Regions from separate parts of the Homo sapiens genome. Here all the other regions are linked to region 4. The links are contacts of gene promoters, found by promoter capture Hi-C in human tissues and cell types (Jung and others, 2019). All regions are on one chromosome and are shown on one strand. The core of a region is centred on a gene start or on the middle of the fragment in contact, and the rest is flanking DNA. Distances in the headings are between cores, read along the strand shown. Region 1 overlaps FMN1 (formin 1). Region 2 overlaps FMN1 (formin 1). Region 3 overlaps FMN1 (formin 1). Region 4 holds the start of GREM1 (gremlin 1, DAN family BMP antagonist).

Region 1 (2,700 bases), core at 91-2,590, 360 kb after region 4:
TCTGGATTGGATTCTTCCATCTGTGTCACTTGAGAAGAGAATAAAGTTTTCTCAAGTGGCCACTGCATAAGGTGACAAAGTTTGCCCTGTTCTTTATTTTGTTTCCCAAGCTCCAACATGATTTTTAAACCAACTCAGTTATTTGAGAGAAAAAAAAAATCCATGAATTTGGGGTTTCTTCCATCCTTTTCTCATGAGAAAAAGCATGCTGAAAATGAGACTAGGTGCCTTAGCACTGACATTTTCCCTTCTTTGGGGAAGGACTCTTCTGAGACAATGAGCAAGCCTGGGTCCTCCATAGCAGAGCACCAGCCATTTTATTTATTCATTTATTTTTGGTTTGGGGTCAATTCATTAGACTTCAAAAGTGCTGCTTCATTACAAATGAAATAAAAGATTACAGACATGAAAATCAACTTTGAAATAGTTATTACATTACTGGCTAGAATCCTACTCTCAAATATTTCTAAGACTGGGTTGTTCCACCAACCAGTGTCAAAGGTCCTCTAGAAATGGATTTAATATTGATGACAAAGTAAAATAATGTAAAAGGGGAGAGAAAGGCTGTGACTTCTGAAGCTGGGGGGCAGGGGGATGAGGGTTGGTGGGTAGCAGTCTTTAAAGTACAGAATTTCCTGGGATGTGTTTCAGAAGAGCTTTGAGCTTTCCCAAAGTGAAGGCATAATATTGCTGTTCCATATGGCTAATGACAGCAGAAGGCATGGAGTCTATGGTGAAAGCATTTCATTGTGACTAAGTTGCTCCTGATAAAAGATGAAGACCTGGAATTTATTAGACTACTTATGCCTGTTGCCTATATTCCCTTCTTCTCATGCAGTAAAGCGAGGCACTTCATGGCTACTGCTATAACTTTTTCTTTTCCTTAATTTTTTTAAAGTAAAAGTTATCTTGAGAATATTAGTTCGAACTCCAAAGATCCAGGTATCATTTCAAAATATTTTTAAAGGGGACAAAAGAAAATCTAGGGAAGGTGGGGATTTACCCAAAAGAAAATGAAGATGGATGGGAGGAGCATGCATGCTGTTCCAAGTAGGCACCATGCTCGGTTCTTTATGCAAGTTTTCTTGCAGCCTCACCCTCTCCATAACTCTATGAGAAAGATGTCATTAATTGCATTTGACAGATTATTACTGTCCAATGAAACTTTCTGCAATAAAGCCAGCATTTGCACTGGATCCATCTGATTCTAAATGTTTCTTTTCATGACAATAAATAAAAAAAACTACGGTATTTTATAACAGTTTTCTTTCCTACTAAACATAGGAAGGGAGGCAAAATAGATCTGCTGGTTACTCAGAACCAAATGGCTACTGAAATTAGAGGTTTACAGAGGGTAGAAAGGTCACAAATGAATCCTGAATCAGCAATGATTCTTTGATCCTAATACCCACATGATTAATTCAGACATTTAAAAAGAAAACTGTTGAAACAAATGTCAATGCACTAAAATTGCAAAGGAGAAGGTAAGTCAGGCATTGCCACAGCTATGATCCAATTTTTTTGAGACAGAGTCTTGCTCTGTCGCCTAGGCTGGAGTGCAGTGGGGGCAATCTCAGTTCACCACAACATCTGCCTCCCAGGGCGCAAGCCATCTTCCTGCCTCAGCCCCGAGTAGCTGGGACCACACGTGCATGCCACCATGCCTGGCTAATTTTTGTTTTGTTTTGTTTTCTAGAGATAGGGTTTCTCTATGTTGCTCAGGCTGGTTTCAAACTCCTGGGCTCAAGCGATCCACCTGCCTTGGCCTCCTAAAGCACTGGGATTACAAGTGTGAGCCACTGCGCCCGGCCCATCCTTTTTTTTTTTTTTAATATATATATATATATTTTTTTTATTATACTTTAAGTTCTAGGGAACATGTGCACAACATGCAGGTTTGTTACATATGTATACATGTGCCACGTTGGTGTGCTGTACCCAATAACTCGTCATTTACCTTAGGTATATCTCATAATGCTATCCCTCCCCCTTCCCCTGACTCCACAACAGGCCCCGGTGTGTGATGTTCCCCTTCCTATGTCCATGTGTTCTCACTGTTCAATTCCCATCCATGAGTGGGAACATGCAGTGTTTGGTTTTTTTCTCCTTGCAACAGTTTGCTGAGAATGATGGTTTCCAGCTTCATCCATGTCTCTACAAAGGCCATGAATTCATCATTTTTTATGGCTGCATGGGAGAAAATTTTTGCAACCTACTCATCTGACAAAGGGCTAATATCCAGAATCTACAAAGAACTCAAACAAATTTACAAAAAAAAAAAAAAACATCAAAAAGTGGGCAAAGGATATGAACAGACACTTCTCAAAAGAAGATATTTATGCAGCCAAAAGACACATGAAAAAATGCTCATCATCACTGGCCATCAGAAAAATGCAAATCTAAACCACAATGAGATACCATCTCACACCAGTTAGAATGGCGATCATTAAAAAGTTAGGAAACAACAGGTGCTGGAGAGGATGTGGAGAAATAGGAACACCAATTCTTAAACAGAGAGCAGAGAAAAAGTAGAGGCAATAAGGCTATGTCTTTGAAAAGGGACATATTGGGGTTTAGCATGAGATATTACTAGTCACACACTAGCTTTTTGTCACTTGAGGCAGGTTCTTTAACGTCTCTAAGATAGCATCCACGCGTAAAATGGGAAAAATAATACTTAACTCATAGAATAGTTCAAGA
Region 2 (2,700 bases), core at 80-2,579, 330 kb after region 4:
TGGTCACATTGTAACCTAAGTGAGAACCTAACCAGAAAGGGGGAATTTTTTTTAAACAAAATTATGGGAGGCCCTTGTTTTGGACTTAGCTCATGCATTAGGCCCCAACAGACAAAACCAAACAAAAATGAAGTCACTTGTGGTAAATGTGACATTATCAAACTGAGACTTTAAGGAAACACATAGCTCCTAGACCAGAACAGACCAGGTTTGTTCTCCTAAAAACAAGATGTTCCAACATAAGGGGATACCCTCTACTCAAGTCCTTGTTCCTACCTTTGCAAAACTCACAGTTCTGTTTCCAGGGGGTTTCAAGACCAAATTAGTAATTTATGATGGTGATAGTGATAGTAATGACTAAAGTTTTGGTCAATCTCTCAAAATTGAGAAAATGACCAAAAGAGGGGAATTGTTAAATCAAGTTTAGTCTAAAGCTACCTTCTTACATATTTAAGTTCAGCCTACAGGTTTTTCTATACATCGTGAACTATAACAAGTGGAGATGTAAACTGACCTCAGCCAACACCTGTGCCAATCACTGAGTTTTAGCCAATAAAATGTAGCCAACTGTCCAAATCGTGTTCAAATAAGGCAAACACTAAGCTCTAATTAATCCCGTTGCTTCTGTACTTCACTTATGTTTTCTGTACGTCACTTTCCTTTTGCTGTCTATAATTGTTGTTCCACCACATGGCTGCACTGGAGTCTCCCTGATTCTGCCATGATTCTAGGGGCTGCTCAATTCACGAATTGTTTATTGTTCAATTAAACTCCTTTAAATTTAATTCAGCTGAAGTTTTTTCTTTTAACACAACCAATATAACCATTCTATTTTTCACTTCTGGTACAGTATTCAACAAATTATATTAGATATTCAACACTTTATTACAAAATAGGCTTTGTGTTCAATGATTCTGCCCAACTGTTGGCTAAAGTGTGTTCTGAGCATATTTAAGGTAGGCTTGGCTAAGGTGATGTTCAGTAGGTTAGGCGTATAACGTGTATTTTGACTTACAATATTCTCAACTTATGTTTATCAGAACATAACCCTATTGTAAGTCAAGAAGCATCTGTATACATATTGTTAAACTTTAGGTTGGAAAATGCTTCCTTTAGACCAGATTTCACTACATAAAACTTTTGTATAATGAAAGACACCATGAAAGAAGAGTCATGGCAAGTTAGAGCCTAAGATTCCAATACATACAATGATAAAAGGATTTTTTTTTTAATACATAGAAAGCTTCTTCAAATCAGTAAGAAAAATGACTAAGAACCTCATTTTCAAAAGGACCAAGAACACCAGGAAGCTCATAAGAAATCCAACTGGTCAATAAATGAAAAGATGTCCAACACCACTTATATCAGAAAAATACAAATTTAAAAAACAGTGTGTGATTTTTAACCCATTACATAGGCATAAATTAAATAAATGCTGGTGAAGTATGAGTAATGGGCATTCTTTCTTTGGTTTAATATTCTGAGAGGCCAACTGTGTAGTATCTACCAAGTAATGGGCCAGGACACAACAATTCCACTTCAGTCCTATCAAGGTACTCACAGGTATGCATAAACCAAATATACAAGAATTTAATGACAGCATTATTTGCAAACAGTGAAAGATTCTGAGCAATCAAAAGGTTCATTACTACAGGCATAGGTCTATAAATTACTACTGTATGGAATACTATGCAGCCATTAAAATAATGAGGAAGAGGGAGAGTGCCCTGTATGCACTGACATAGAAAGGTTTCAGTATATGGTAAAAAGCAGCTCATCTTAGAACAGATTTTATAGTATGACCCCACTTGTGTGGAAATATTTTGTGATGTGCCACTCAGTGTATACGTATTCATGAGTGCATATACAAGTGTGTGAGAAGCAATGTAAGTAACTGTTCACAAGGACCCCCCCTTTAAGAAGGCAGAGGGATCGGGGGATATAGAGTGAAGGATGATTTTTGCTTTTTCCTCTATATATATACCATTCTCTGAATTAGGTATGATCATTCCAGGGTATGTTCCTTGGATTTTTTACACTGCTTCCTTCTATCCTTCCTGAGAATCAGATGTGTCCTCTTTAATCAGAATTGAATAAAACAGTCTGGGAAAGGTTAAGGTGAATTATGGCTGGGCTGAAAGAAATGGGGGCCACATTAAAAATGGAAAGAAAAAACTAAACTGGAAGTCAGAAGACCAACTTTCTAGTCCTGGTTCTGTTGTTACAGTAGGTAGCTAGTCAGACATGAGCAGGGCAGGAGAGGGTCCCCTGCCACCACCAGGATGTCGGGCAACCATCAGGTGATAGGTGGTTGTGACAGTGCCGCTCTAATAATTGGTCACACCTGGTGCCAGAGAAAGGCAGTCTCCCAATAGATATAAACACCTGAAACTGGTGATCAGCAGCTTCCTAGTAAGATCTCAGGAGTTGGGTGAGTGGGCTCAAGCATGGGCATGAAGAGGCAAAACAGCAGAGTTTTTAGCTGGTATATGACCTTCCTCTAGAAACGCTTGACTGGTTAGGGAAAAATGCCTCAAGTGAGCACGTGTACAACTCCAATAAACACACTGTACATGCAGCCCCTCCCAAGTGCTGGCAGGCCACTGCACATGCTGATAGCCCACTCCAAGGGAGGAATCCGGGGAGAAGGACGCAAGACCCCGGAAGCATACCAACATATAAAACCCCAAGTCAAAGGTC
Region 3 (2,700 bases), core at 188-2,687, 440 kb after region 4:
AATTCCATGTAAGATAAAGTAAGTGCACTCTATCCTAGCTCTCCCACTGAATGTAACAGAAAAAAAACACCAATATAAAATGCATGGAGCAGCTATTTGAACACTCTAAAAGTAAATGGTAACAAGCAGGTTGATGAGGAAGACCAGGCTTTGAAGTATCAACCAACTGTAAAGCAGCTAACTTTCTCAACTTTGTCCTTCAGTAGCCCCTAAGCCTGGACTCAAATGTGCCTGAAACATGGCAGTGAATATCAGCACAAACAGAGGAAGATATAGGAGGAGTCCTGTAATTCAGAATCAAGAATAGAAAGAAGTTTTCTTGTTGGCACCTAAAACTCTGAGGGAGGAGAACATTTCTCTATGATTAGAGGAACTGTAGTCCCAAGATGTATGGGGGAAAACCCTATTTCTTTTTCTCTCACTCTGTTCTGCCTCTCGTTGATTTCGGGTGTGGGCAGAGTTGCAGGAAGTTTGCAGCCAAAGAGTTGGAGGGTTAGTAGTCCTAGATTTCTAGTTAGAGGACTGAAATCAGAGCCTCAGAGAGCCCAGAAGTATGGGAAAGATTATGGAGAAGGATCTTAGAAAGTGACCCATAAAGTTGTTCATGGATACCTGAATTAACCCCAGCCTGTGGATTGTGGATCTGAACTTAAACACCATACGAAGGGCTTTGAAAAAAAATGAAGAGATAAGACAACTTCCCAGGGCCTAGGCTGGCCACTGGGTGGCACATACATGGGATGGAACACTGCAAAAGCTTTGAAAATGGAACTGACATGAAAACCACAACCCACAGGAGGCTCATTGGAACTGGAGGACTGAGCCAAACCAGGTTGACTAGCTGGTTGTTTCAACAAAAAAGGATCTTCCCTGAGCAAATGAACTTCAACCTCAACCCTCTAGAGTGTTCCATGTCAGAAGAAGGCTTTAGACCAGGGCAAACTCTTCTCTGTGACAACCCATTAGAAAGTCAGAATGCAGTATGGAATCATCACACATATTTTTCATCCAAGAAACCAGAGGAAAAAGAGCAGTAAGTCCTAAGAGAAAAAAAGCAAAAGGACAGGAAATCACTGTGCATTGGGGTTAAATACACTGGCATTGCAATTCCATGCTGAGTTCACAGGACTATTTCAAACAGCATTGCCTCATTCTACTTGGACTCAAATGCAGCGGCTCTGCAGAGGCACACACTAAATTATACATCTTAATTTGGCCTGTGAAGTGACCTGCTCTGGTTATGTTCAAGGTAAAAGCACTTTGCTTCCCAGGGAGTCTTCGTGTCTTCTATTTCCTCTGACAGGCTCCAGGCTGGCATTCTGTCTATGACAACATTGCAGCAGTGATTTCTCCCTTGATTCTTTTTCCAATAAACAAGTAGATTACCTCACTCTACCCCAAATGGAAATATCTGTTCTGCCTCATCCTAATGAGAAATGATTGCCTTTTAGTAGATGCTATCTATTGTTCATAGCATATTTCACCAATGCTAAAAATAAGATTCAAGAATTAGTTGTCGTCATTCTGTCTGCTGACGGCAGACATCCTAATTGATTTTGGCCTTAAAAGGCCAATGCAAAGCTTTCTTTGCCTAGTCATTGGCACAGTCTTTCCCTGTGACTCCATCTGAGCCCAACACGGCTAAGACAGATTACCTGTATTCCATTTCTAAACTGGAAAATTTTTATTAGTTCAGTCAAATTCACACTCTACCTTTCACACCCTCCTAAGACCAAGAGACTGACTTTTATGAACTCAATCAACAAGTTTCCTTGCCCTGTGGCTTCTACTAGATTTAGCCATTGGGAAACAGTAACAGATTGGAGGGCAGATGGAAGAGGGCTCGGGACCTTTATCCCCTGACTCCCTATCTCCTGGGCTATAGTTTGGTAGTAGGCGTGCCCTCTAATGAAGACCACGCTCCTCTGGGGTAGTTCTCCTCCAGCTGCAGCTGCTTTCTCTGAGTACCATTACTGCCCCCTCCCCTTGCTCATTTAGTCCTAGATGGCTTTGAATTCTGCCTCTCCTGTGTGATTTTGGACAAGTTATTGCCTGCCTTTCTCCTTTCCATCCACCCTGGGATGGAGTGCAGCTTTTTCAAAGAGTAGATTAAAAAAACAAAGGAAGGCTGGGCGCAGTGGCTCACGCCTGTAATCCCAGCACTTTGGGAGGCTGAGGCGGGCGGATCACAAGGTCAGGAGATCGAGACCACCCTGGCCAACACGGTGAAACCCCGTCTCCACTAAAAATACAAAATATTAGCCAGGTGTGGTGGCGAGCACCTGTAGTCCCAGCTACTCAGGAGGCTGAGGCAGGAGAATGGCGTGAACCCGGGAGGTGGAGCTTGCAATGAGACGAGATCGTGCCACTGCACTCCAGCCTGGGTGACAGAGCAAGACTCCGTCTCAAAAAACAAAAAAGAAAAAAAAAAAAAGGAAGTTCTGCAATAGGTTAATGGCTCTTCTTCTTTCCATGGAGTTTTTCTTCTCTTTGCTTTCCTTTTTGTTTTTCTTCTTTCTGAGATAGGGTCTCGCTCTGTCACCCACGCTGCAGTGCAGTGGCGTGATCTCAGCTCACTGCAACCTCCAGCTTCTGGGCCCAGGCAATTCTCCTACCTCAGCTCCTCCAAGTAGCTGGGAAAACAGGTACATGCCATCATGCCCAGATAATTTTTGTATATTTTGTAGAGACAGGGTTTTG
Region 4 (2,700 bases), core at 10-2,509:
AATAGGCTGTTTTCTGGTCTGGTTTTGTTTTCCTAGTCAAGTACTTAAATTACGGGTGTTTCGTAAGTATCTTTTGATGGATTTCATTGTTTTGTTTATTTCGCGTTAGACAATACAGACACCTTCATATTTCCTTCTGTAGCAAATCTTTTTCAAAGTCTTCATTTGACGTGGCTGATGGAGCTGGTCTGCAGATCTTGCAGACGTGTTAATTTTTGCACGGACTTTAGCTTCAACACACAAAACTTACGGCCTCTTTGAGGAACCAATTTTTCAGGCTAAGAGAACAAATGAAAGTGTTCGCTCATCTTTCGAAAACTATTTATGTACTTGGTATCCGGAATGTGACATTGGTTTTACACGTCGGTAGGTTTTTGTCCTAAATTTCTGGGAAGTTACTTCCTCATCTAACGTTTTATTTTCCTGACTTATTCGTCTTTGATATGCTACAGAAAACCCCTCTCGCCCAGTGGCTGTTTTCTCTCTGTCTCTTAAGATAATTTAGGAACAGAAGCCTTGACTTTTGACGGTCATTTAGTTTTATTCTCCTCCCGTGACTCCCCTCTGTACACTCACAGGGGAGGCCGCCGGCATCTGGGCTGAAAGAACCCTTGGCGGGCGAGGAGAGCAGGGTGTCATGTTGGCGACAGGCTCCTGCTGGCGGCCAGCGAGCCCGCCAGGTTAACGGGGGCGCCGGGGTCAGCGCCCTCGAAGTTGGGGGCCTCGGGCGGGGCCGCCGGGGAGCCACGACGGCCGCTCGACCAGAGCATCCCGCAGTCCCGTTCCCTCCAGAGGGGAAGAATGGCCGAATCTGGCACGATCCCACGGAGATCTCGCTCTTCCCAGCGCAGTCTCCGCTACTGAGCGCGGGACCAACGCAGGCGATGCCGGGCGGCCGACAGGGAAAGCCCAGACCTGGGGCAGAGAAGGAATGAGGGGCCGCCAGCCGGGGGGATTTCCTCCCGCTCTTCCCTCTCCAACGGGAGCGGAAAATGTGATTTGCTGTGCATTCCAGGCGCGGTTCCCTGGGGTGACCTCTCCCAGCCGGCCCGGGCGGGGGGAGCAGACAAAGAGGCGAGGCGGGCGGAGAGGGGACCCCGCGGGGAAGCAGGAGGGGTGCGGGGGGCGGGGGCAGTACCGGGAAAGGGGGCGGATAGCGGGTCTGGCGGCGGCGGCGGCGCCTGGCCAATGGAGAGGCGCGGCCCCGGGCGCCGCGCTCTGCCGCCGGCATTTAAACGGGAGACGGCGCGATGCCTGGCACTCGGTGCGCCTTCCGCGGACCGGGCGACCCAGTGCACGGCCGCCGCGTCACTCTCGGTCCCGCTGACCCCGCGCCGAGCCCCGGCGGCTCTGGCCGCGGCCGCACTCAGCGCCACGCGTCGAAAGCGCAGGCCCCGAGGACCCGCCGCACTGACAGGTGAGCGCGGACGCACCCGGCAGGGATGTGAGTGGGCGGAGGGAAGAGGGCCGCAAACCAACCCAGGACCCGCTCAGTTCCACGCGCGGCAGCCCTCCGTGCGCGCAGGCTCGGGTGCGTTGTTCGCGGGGGTGAATTGTGAAGAACCATCGCGGGGTCCTTCCTGCTGAGGCCGCGGACACCGTGACCTCGCTGCTCTGGGTCTGCAGGGAAACGTAGGAAAAAAAGTTGTCAGGAGCGGGCAGGATGACCCCCACATCCCGTTTCCACCTCCCGGAGGCCCCCGAACACGCTCCTGGTGCTGGTGGCAGCAGCGCCTGGCAGACGCGCCCGCTTAGCGAGGGCGCGAAGTCCAGGCCGCCAGAGCGCAGGAGCATCCGGACCTGCTAGTCGGCCGCTGACTGCGCGGCGAGTTGCCTTGAGAGGGTCCCATGTGCTTGGGGCGCCGCGCTGGGTCTGGGGGCGTCTTGGGGCGCCCATTGGAGTCCGCGGGTTGGAGCATCCGGAGAATCCATGATGTGTGCATTTGCCGATCCCCGAGGTGAGATGGAGACTGGCAAGGGCAGAGCCGCTGTGTTCAGCCACAGCGGAAAACCGAACGGTGGGTAATCCGACAGCTGCGGTGCGGGGCGCGGCCCTGGCCGCGGGGTCCAGCGAACCCGCAGTGCTCACAAGGCAGACACCACACGCGCTCGCGGACCGGCCACGCACTCGCGGGCGCTCGCTTCTCTACTCCAGCCTCTTCCCCGCCCCGCGCACGCCCGGGCTGAATGGTAGACGTTCTGGCGCCGGGCAGCGGCCACCGGCTGGTTCCCACTTCCGCGCGCACCCCTTAAACTGTGTTCTAGAGGCCCCAGCCTCGCCTTGCAGCGCCTCACTAGCTCCTGAGGACTAGGGACTGGCGGCTGAGGCGGGTTGGCGGCTGCAACGAGCTGGGCGTCTTTCGTTCTCTCTCGCTGCCTGGCTGGCTCCGCTGGCCCCTCCACAGCTTGCGGAGCAAGGCCATAGCAGGGGAGTGGGAGGTATATTGGGGCTGTCACCTCCTTGCTGGCCGGAGTTATTTGTAGACTACAGACTCCGGAAGAACAGACGCGCCACCGCTCTCGCTTGGCATTGCCTTCGGATCGCAGCTCCTCCTTGGGGGTGCCCCAGCTTGGCGTTTATTTGCCTGCGCCAGGCTCTGGCGACGGTCACCGGGCCAGGCGGGGAGGGACGGACGGCAGGTGACCAGCCTCTGCTGTGAAGAAATTCCTGCGCGCCCGGAGCTGTCCCTAATGCATTCC

The links. Contacts are between HindIII fragments. The study calls those that stand out against the background at their distance.
Region 1: a fragment that was not itself captured here is called in contact with the fragment with the promoter of GREM1 in region 4 in 4 of the 25 tissues and cell types used here (dorsolateral prefrontal cortex, lymphoblastoid cells, mesendoderm cells and 1 more).
Region 2: a fragment that was not itself captured here is called in contact with the fragment with the promoter of GREM1 in region 4 in 2 of the 25 tissues and cell types used here (heart right ventricle and thymus).
Region 3: a fragment that was not itself captured here is called in contact with the fragment with the promoter of GREM1 in region 4 in 1 of the 25 tissues and cell types used here (mesendoderm cells).

What each region holds. Positions count from the first base shown.
Region 1 is chr15:33,075,524-33,078,223 of GRCh38, forward strand. The region is part of intron 5 of FMN1 (formin 1); the gene reads right to left. LOC124903459 (a long non-coding RNA gene) reads left to right here. Exons shown (of 2, transcript XR_007064574.1): 2 at 1-1,196. Among named protein-coding and RNA genes, the nearest start is that of FMN1, 120 kb to the right of the region's middle. The HindIII fragment of the contact is 4,514 bases long and covers 1-2,700 here.
Region 2 is chr15:33,049,174-33,051,873 of GRCh38, forward strand. All of the region lies in intron 6 of FMN1 (formin 1), which reads right to left. Among named protein-coding and RNA genes, the nearest start is that of FMN1, 140 kb to the right of the region's middle. The HindIII fragment of the contact is 4,194 bases long and covers 1-2,700 here.
Region 3 is chr15:33,159,511-33,162,210 of GRCh38, forward strand. All of the region lies in intron 3 of FMN1 (formin 1), which reads right to left. Among named protein-coding and RNA genes, the nearest start is that of FMN1, 34 kb to the right of the region's middle. The HindIII fragment of the contact is 3,813 bases long and covers 1-2,700 here.
Region 4 is chr15:32,716,745-32,719,444 of GRCh38, forward strand. GREM1 (gremlin 1, DAN family BMP antagonist) reads left to right here and starts at 1,260. Exons shown (of 2, transcript NM_013372.7): 1 at 1,260-1,417. GREM1-AS1 (GREM1 antisense RNA 1) reads right to left here and starts at 2,121. Exons shown (of 2, transcript NR_109767.1): 1 at 1,801-2,121; 2 at 1,357-1,620. RefSeq lists enhancers at 766-1,266, 1,404-1,982, 1,983-2,560. The HindIII fragment of the contact is 12,229 bases long and covers 1-2,700 here.